Regions from separate parts of the Homo sapiens genome. Here region 1 is linked to region 2. Evidence: promoter capture Hi-C in 16 types of primary human blood cells and fetal thymus (Javierre and others, 2016). All regions are on one chromosome and are shown on one strand. The core of a region is centred on a gene start or on the middle of the fragment in contact, and the rest is flanking DNA. Distances in the headings are between cores, read along the strand shown. Region 1 holds the start of BIRC7 (baculoviral IAP repeat containing 7). Region 2 holds the start of CHRNA4 (cholinergic receptor nicotinic alpha 4 subunit).

Region 1 (2,865 bases), core at 9-2,508, 130 kb before region 2:
GCTCTGGGCCTTGCATAGGAAAGGGTTGGGGGTCTCGCTGGGGCCTGGCAACACTGGCCTGAGTATGACCAGAACAGTCACCAGAGGCCTCCTGGGAGGGCGGGTGCAGCCCCAGCCCCCGCCGTGAGTGGGGGTCGGGGGGCAGGTGTGAAAGTGTGGTGGGCAGCAGCTGGGTCTATGCGGCTCAGCAGTGGGAAGAGAACGGGCCAGGCTTCCAGGTGAGCTCAGGGACGGTTTTCACTGCAGCTAACCCTCTCCTGCCCACCTGCGCTCCCCGTGGCAACCAGCGGCCCTGCAGCGTGCGACTCCTCTTTATTCTTCCAAACTCTGTGAGCCTGCACGCTCCCATCCAGGACGGAACAGCAGGGGAGAGTGGCTGAAGGATGACAGGGGGCTTTTAGGGCCAGCCGGGTGGATGAGCTGGGTTTGCTGGGGTTGAGGGCTCAGTCGGGGGTTGGGGGGTGTCGAAGTCTGGGCCCCATCCAGCTGTCCTTTTTGTCCCGCCCAGGTGTCCCTGGGGTTCCTGTTCTGCCCCTGGCTTCTCTGGGGTTAAGTCCTCCTCCCTGTTCCCTCACTGTGGGGTTTGGCAGTGTGGCACAGTGTGGAGCTTGGACCGGCAGCCAGGGTCACAGCAGACCTCAGGAACTCCGATTCCAGTGCCAACACTGAGTACTCCTCTTTTGGGGGCATCAGAGCCTCTCCCTTGGCTACCTGGGGAGGCTGGTATGGAGGGAGGTGGAGGGAGATGGGGGAAGGGGGAGCGGGAGGTGAGGGCAGCTCGGGCCCTTCTTTTTGCTCTGATCTTCCTGGCCTGAGGACAAGAGCTGCTCCCAGACCTGCAGAGGCCCCTTGGGGCAGAGGGATGTTTCAGAGAACAGCCGGGTGACCTGCCTCCCTGCTCTGCGTGACGCAGCCCTAGGCCCCTGTGAGGCTAGAGTCACCCCCGCAAGGTGGGAGGTCACGGCCCCTGCCTGCACAGGCAGCACAGCTCACATGTCCTTCCTTGAGCCTTCTCTGCTTCCGGAGGCTGCCCTGGGCGCCTGACCTTGGAGCCATCATCTCCAGCTCCCCAACCCCTCCCCCACAGCCCTGGGGCAGACACCAGCCTGGGGAGGGGTCTCCATGCTCAGTTCCTTCCCGTCTTGTTCAGAGAGACGTGGCCTGCCCACGTGCAGTCAGCGGCATCCGCAACCCTGCCAGGGGCCCCGTGACACGCCCCCGCTGCACAGAGCATGTGACCCCAGAGGCCACCCTGGCCACTTCCAGAAAGCTGTGGGCCCTGGGATACTCCCCTCCCAGGGTGTCTGGTGGCAGGCCTGTGCCTATCCCTGCTGTCCCCAGGGTGGGCCCCGGGGGTCAGGAGCTCCAGAAGGGCCAGCTGGGCATATTCTGAGATTGGCCATCAGCCCCCATTTCTGCTGCAAACCTGGTCAGAGCCAGTGTTCCCTCCATGGGACCTAAAGACAGTGCCAAGTGCCTGCACCGTGGACCACAGCCGAGCCACTGGGCAGCCGGTGATGGTCCCACGCAGGAGCGCTGTGGACCCCGCTCTCTGGGCAGCCCTGTCCTAGGCCTGGACACCTGCAGAGCCTGGGACCACGTGGATGGGCAGATCCTGGGCCAGCTGCGGCCCCTGACAGAGGAGGAAGAGGAGGAGGGCGCCGGGGCCACCTTGTCCAGGGGGCCTGCCTTCCCCGGCATGGGCTCTGAGGAGTTGCGTCTGGCCTCCTTCTATGACTGGCCGCTGACTGCTGAGGTGCCACCCGAGCTGCTGGCTGCTGCCGGCTTCTTCCACACAGGTCAGTCCCGGGCGGGGGGGCCTTCCTGCCGTGGGCCTGGGCACGATTCTGGACCCTTCCAGCCCAGGGCTCTGCCTCCTCCGTAGCATCCATCCCCCAACAGGAAGGGTCTGGCCTGATGACGGAGCAGTGGTCCTGCAAGCCCCTCCAGTGCCCATGGGCTCGTGCCTGACACCCTCCCCCGGAGTCTCTGCTGGCTGAGTGTTTCAGACCGTGGGATGTGAGGAGGGGCTGCCTCTGGCCACAGTCTGAGGGTCTCAGCTGTGGAGGCCGCCAGCTTGGTGCACAAGTACCCCTTTGTGATAGAAGTGGGTGGGGCTGACATTGCCTGGGGCCCTCACCTTCCCCGCTGCTGTTCTGCACAGGGAGAGGAGATGTTTAAAGAACAGGATCAGGGTGACCAAGGCAGGCAGTGGTCAGCCAGAAGGTCCTGGATGCTCAGCCTGTGGGGAATTTCTCCAGGCCCCAACCTGCAGCTACTGTCTGGTCTTCCCCAACTGAATCAAGTCCCCGGAGTACCTATCCTAGTCTTGGCCCGGGCCTGCTCCTCTGCCCTACAGCTGCAGACCATGTGGTCAGACCTGAGTTCAGGTCCCAGCTCTGCCACTTCCTGGCTGAAGGACAGGGCAGCAGGGCCCACCGAGGGCTTTACAAATACTGGCACAGCCATGGTCATTGTCAGCAGTGGGCTCTGGCGGGGCACCATCCTGGTAAGGCTGGACCAACTTAAGACAGCTGGTCGGGGGGACAGTGGCTGGGACAGTCAGAAGCCGTGGCGTGAAGGGGCAGGCCCAGCTCACCCACCTCCCTGGAAGTCCAAGGCTCAGGAGGCAAAGGCCAGGCAAGAGGCATGGCAGGTGCAGAGCCGGGGTCTTTGGGGCTGGTAGAGGTCCAGTGCCCGATGCAGCCCAAACCTGTGATGTCAGTGGCAGGTGACGTATCGCATGGATGCCGATGAGGGGACGGGGTCGCCAGGAGGTAGAGAGATGACGGGTCCCCCACCCCCAAAGGGAGGCATGAGTTCCTAAAAGCAAGCCTGGCCCCAGACTGGCCTTCTAGGGCAGCC
Region 2 (5,369 bases), core at 2,465-4,964:
CACAGGTGAATCCCCAGCCCCTGGTGGGACGGGCAGAGTGGGCCAGACACAAGGCAGCCCCTTCCACATACACGTGGTCCTCAGCCTTAGGCCAGCACCCAGGAGCATCAGGCAGCCCCTTCCGTGCACACGTGGCCCTCGGCCTTGGGCACCCAGGAGCGTCAGCACCCACGTGTGCATGTTCGTGTAAGTCCTTAGTCGGCTGCAGGGTGGAGAGAGGGGTGGGCAGCTCTGGGAGTCTTGGTTCTGGGTGTGCTCCAGGCCTCAATGTCTCCTGGGCAAACTGGGGACTCTGTGGTGGCGTAGGGAGCCATGGATTGAGCCCTGAGAAGCTCAGGTAGGCAGCCAGGTGGGGGGTGGCAGACCCAGAGCCTTGGGCAGCTGCCAGCGGCCGCCTCTGCCAGCTATCACTTTGCAGCCGTGTTTGCAAACCTCAGCAGGCTTGCCAAGCCTGTGCAACCCGCATTGTCTTCTGGCTGGGCCTCCGCCAGGGACACTCCACAGGAGCCACTCAAGGGCAGCTCCAGGACACTGAGGCTGGAGGTCTGGGTGGCCAACCCTGGACGGGGCTGGCTGACTGGAGTCTCCATGCGCTGCCCTGCATGGGCAACTGCCACCACTGAGCAGCCTGTCCGCGGGAATGTGGCTGCAGCTCCCCACACCTCCCAAAAGCCCCTGGGGTGTGGCCCACTCAGCCTGGGATAGTGAAGCAGCTCTCACCCCGTTTCACAGGCCCCAGGCCCAGGGTTACCCAACACGCACGGCACCAGCCTCCCAAAGAGAGGAAATTCTCCCGCAACCCGGTGGCTCCTCCCTCAGCGGCAGACCCAGGCTTGGCATCCTGGCAAGGTGTGGGCTGGGCCTCTACAGCATACAAATGCCTCCCCATGTGGGGGTGCCCTCCCTGGACCAGCGAGCTGGGATTTGGCAGCAGGGCTGGAGCTGGCGGACTTCAGTGTGGAAGACGAGCCCCTGCAGCTCAGCTGGCCATTGGCTGCCCACTCGCAAGTGGGCCAGCTCCCAGAGACCATGGCCTGCCCAACCTGCCCTCCTCCATGGTGGCAGCCCCCAGGCTATGCACCCCCACCCAGCCAGGTACCCTGAGGGATGGTCTCACCCCATTTGGAGTGGCTGAGCCTGGCTGGGAAACGTGGAAATGTCTCTGCTGCCCCTTACCCGGCCCCTCCAGGGCCGCCGAGACCCCCAGACAGTCTGGCTCAGGCCTGGGTAGGTAACCAAGCATCTCAACCGAGCACAAGGCCGAGCCTCCCGCAGCTCAGTTCTCTCAGCCTCGAAGCCTCCTGGTTCCTATCCTGCCTTGGGGCTCCATGTGCACTGGCCCACGCTGCAGGGGCCTGGCTGGACCAGTAGGCTTCCTCCCAGCAGCCTTCTTGGGCCCCCCACCAGAAAGAACATATCTTCAGACAAACAGACTTCGCCCAAGACTCCCCCAAACCCCACATTCCAGATCTGTGGGTGAGGGGCCTCTGGGGCCAGCTAAGGTTGGGGTGCTGCCGGGACACCACAGTGCCTGCTCCTGCCCCGGCCCCTGCCCCGGCCGGTTGTCCCTGTTGCTCCGAGGTCACAGCGTGCCCCGCCACCCCCAAGCAAGGCCTTTGCTGTTCTTTGCTTCCGAAGGTGCCTGGGCTCTGTACTGAGAACCTGGCCACTTGGAGTGTTCCCACGTCAAGGGGGAGGAAAGGGCAGGGCCTGGCTGGGACGCTCTGAATCAACCCTTGGCTGGGGCTCAGGCGGGGCAGAGCTGGTGGCTGTCGTTCTGACGTACCAGCCCGGGCCGGACACTCACAGCCACGGGGAGTGTTGATGGCTGTGTCCCCTCTGCCCACCCAGACCCCTGTGCTCCTTGCAGGGCGACCTCAGTCACAGTGCACGATGGCCACGCCCTCACCTACCACGTCAATGAGCTGAGCGATGGACAGGCCGAAGCGGACGAGGACCACGTCCGAGATGTTGGCCACGGGTCGGGACCACTTGTTGTAACCGGAGAAGAGTTTCTTCAGGAGCCGCTCCTCGGCGTGGGCCCGGGTCTCCACATGGCTGCTGGCTGCGGGGAGAGGCAGGCCAGTGGCTCAGGTGCAGGCGGGACAGGAGCCGGGAGCTGTCCAGGAGCTCTCCAGGCTGCCCCAGCCCCCTGCCCAGCACGTCCACTTCCTTTCAGCTCCTCACATGAGCCCTTCCCACCCCAGGACCTGTGTGTGTGCCGGGCGTGCGCTCTGTGTGTGTGTGTGTGCCGGGCGTGTGCTGTGTGTGTGTGTGTGTGTGTGTGTGTGTGTGCCGGGCGTGGCGTGCGCTGACCTCTCTTGGCCTCCGGCTCTCTCCCACCCCTGGGTGTAATTGTGATTTCCTCGGGGAAGCTTCCCAGGCCCCTCAGCCCACGGAGGCCTTCCCAGCACCTTGACCGCACCACAAAACCAGGCGGCGGATGGGCCGAGGACTGCTTTGGGTCTCCTGTCACACTGACTTCCAGGGAAGGGCTGTGTCTCTAGCAGCTGGCGAGTCAGAGGACACTCGGGGGTAACAGCAGCAAAGGAGGGAGTACAGGGCAGCGGGGCCAGCCCAGGCAGGAAGAGGGAGGAAGGGGAAGGAGGATCGGGCCCCCACAAGCGCCCGCTTCCTACGGAACCTCCCCTGGTTCATCAATCCCCTGATGCCCGAGGAGTGTTTCAGATGCAGACCCCAACGAGGTGCCAGCCCCCTCCGCACCCCAGCCTGCCCGTGCTGTTGGGCAGACCCAGAACGCCCCTGATGAGTCGCTCTGGAGGAGCACAGCCCTAGGTCCATCTGTGCTCCAGGTCCGGGGCCCCAGGATCTGAGGCATTCCCCGCCTGTCCTGGGCGCTGCCATAAGGGGCGGGTCTGGGCGGAGGGGGAGACCTCCACCTCCCTGGTGGGTCCCGCTGGCCTGAGAGCGCAGACAGGACTCGGGGAGGGGGAGGGGTCAGTTCTACACCCCTGGGAGCCTTGACTCCCAGCCCAGAGTCCCCACCCGCGACCTTGTCCTTCCTGCAGAAAAGGTGGGTGGCGGCCGCCAAGGGCAGAGGCCACCCCTCTGATCCCCTAAACCGGAGGAAGCAGGCATGGGGGTCTTCAGGGAAATTTAGCTGGATGGATGGGGGAAGGGCGAAGGTGGCCCCACCTCTGCTCAAGTTCGAGCTTTTGGGGCCAGCCCTGAAATAGCAGCGGAACCCCCCACACCCCGCGGAAAGCCCCTTTCCCAGCCCTCCGCATTCGCCGGCGGTCAACTCCCTCCTCGCCTGGCTCAGCCCGGGTGCGAGCGCAGCCTGTGCGGCTGGGGATGGGGAGCCTCGCGGTCGCCCAGTCGCGCGCACCCGCGGCTTGGGACCGCAGTCAGGAGCCTGCCTCCCTCTGGCTCTGGGGGTCCCAGGCCATCCGAACGCGGGCGAAAGGGGGCCCATCCCGCGCCCCGTAACTTACCGCGCAGGAGGCCGGTCCCCAGAAGCAGCAGCAGCGGCGGCAGCAGCCGCGGCGCTCCGGGGCCCCCTAGCTCCATGGCGCACGCACCTCGCGGGCTCTAGATGCGGGCGGCTCCCGGCTCCCCGCCGCTTCGAGGCCCGTGCGCGCCCAACTTCATGCCTCCCGCGCCTCGCGGGCCGCTTCGGCCGCCGGGCCCGGTTCGTCTTCTCCTGTGGGGCGCGGTGCGGCGGCGGCGCGGCAGGGAGCGCCGGGCTGTGGGCTCCGTGGCGCGGCCCCGCCCGGCCCTGCCCGCCTCAGCCGGCTGGGAGGGGGAGCAGGGGAGGGGGGAGGAGGGGGAGCAGGGGAGGGGGAGGGAACGGAGAGTGAAAAGGGAGGAGGGAGCAAGGGCCAGGGAGAATGAGCAGGGATGGACCGCGCGCCCAGGGGGACGGGGAGGCTGCGCTGGGCCCCGGGCGGGGGTAAAGTTTCCTTGTTCTCCTGGGGTTCGAGACGTGCCTGAGCCGGGGACGGGGACCCCGGGGTCACTGAGTGCGACTGGGGGGTCCCGGAGTCAGTCTGACCTCCCTCCCCACATCTCCAGCCTGGGCGCCCGCTCCCTGCCTGCAGGGGTGGGGGGCACATCTAGGGGATCCGGCGCAAGGAGGGGCACCCCTAGCACATCTGGGTTACTCCATCGCGCCAGCCGGTGTCTGCAGCCTGAAAATCGCGTCTCTGGTCTTGTTCCCCAGCGAGCCGTTCAGGACTCTCTGTCCGCCTGCAGCCCCCGCCTTCCCTGGTACCTCCGCAGAGACCCAAGAGGCGTCCAGAGGGGAGCCCAGGCGCACGGTCCCCAGGGAGGGGCCCCGCCCTCAGGTGGGTGCCGAGGTGGCCGCCCACAGAGCAGCAGGTGCGTTGGAGGAGGGGCGCCTTGTGCGGCTGAATCTCGTGTGCAGGAGGAGAGGGCGAGGCTCTGCAGAAACATCAGACCCGGCCATCCCTGTAGCCGCGCCCCTGGCCCAGCCTCAGGCTCTGCAGCTGGGACACAGCCCCCGAAAACGGAGATTTCCGTCGTCGGTAATGGAAGGCAGAGCAGAAGGGGCTGGAGAGGTCCGGTGACCCTCCGCATTCACGCCCCTCCCTCCAAGGCTGCAAGGCTGCTGGTCGGGCGAGGGGGCTCCGTCAGGAGTTCCCTGCAGCAACCCCCTCTCCAGCACAGGCCTCTGGAGCCCTACAGCTCCTGCCCCTCCCATCGCTCTCCCATCTCCCCTGTCCCTACCCCCTACCTTCCTTCTCCTCCTCCCCCCAGCTTCCCTGAGCAGCCACTGCTCCTGCCCACCCCTCTCCCCCCTCCCTGCCCACCTCTGGTTCCAGGTTGAGCTCATGGCTCCTCATACACCTGCTTTGGGACGGGCAGGAGCTCTTCCTCACTGGCCAGAGCTGTCTGTCCGCTCTGTGGGCAGTGCCTACAATTAGAGCTTTCAGAACACACAGCCGCTGCACAGTGGCTGGTCCAACGACGACACTGCCCTCCTGAATTGCCTGGTCCAGCGACAACACCTGCCCTGCTTCTGTGGCCTTCCCACATGCTGGTCCAAGCAAGCTGGATGCAGGGACCCCCTGCACTTCCACGGCCCCCTTGAGGTGGCCTCTTCAATTGTCCCTACGTTACCAAAGAGATAACACAGGTGCGGAGAGGCCGAGCGACTTGCCGAAGCTCACAGTCAGTACTGGGATTCCAACCCAGGCCATCTGGCTTTAGGGTCTGCACCCCGGCCTCCTGCTGGCCTCAGATGTAGTTTTGGGCTGACGTGCCCTCACTGGGACAGCCTCCTGGGAGATCCCAGGTCTACTTTCCTGAACTCTTTCCTGGAGCCATGGGTGTCTGCCACCCACCCTGCTGACGGCTCTCCCTCAGACCACCCTGCAGATCCAACC

Evidence for each region. Contacts are between HindIII fragments. The CHiCAGO score rates a contact against its expected background, and 5 or more counts as called.
Region 1: the fragment with the promoter of BIRC7 here is called in contact with the fragment with the promoter of CHRNA4 in region 2 in 1 of 17 cell types (endothelial precursors); the score reaches 5.1 in endothelial precursors.

Annotation. Positions count from the first base shown.
Region 1 is chr20:63,234,647-63,237,511 of GRCh38, forward strand. It overlaps BIRC7 (baculoviral IAP repeat containing 7), which reads left to right and starts at 1,259. Exons shown (of 7, transcript NM_139317.3): 1 at 1,259-1,799. The coding sequence starts at 1,451. RefSeq lists enhancers at 75-676, 1,024-1,143. The HindIII fragment of the contact is 21,330 bases long and covers 1-2,865 here.
Region 2 is chr20:63,357,635-63,363,003 of GRCh38, forward strand. It overlaps CHRNA4 (cholinergic receptor nicotinic alpha 4 subunit), which reads right to left and starts at 3,715. Exons shown (of 6, transcript NM_000744.7): 1 at 3,456-3,715; 2 at 1,914-2,065. The coding sequence starts at 3,531. LOC100130587 (a long non-coding RNA gene) reads left to right here and starts at 2,354. Exons shown (of 5, transcript NR_110634.1): 1 at 2,354-2,535; 2 at 4,184-4,307. RefSeq lists an enhancer at 3,823-4,456. The HindIII fragment of the contact is 20,478 bases long and covers 2,374-5,369 here.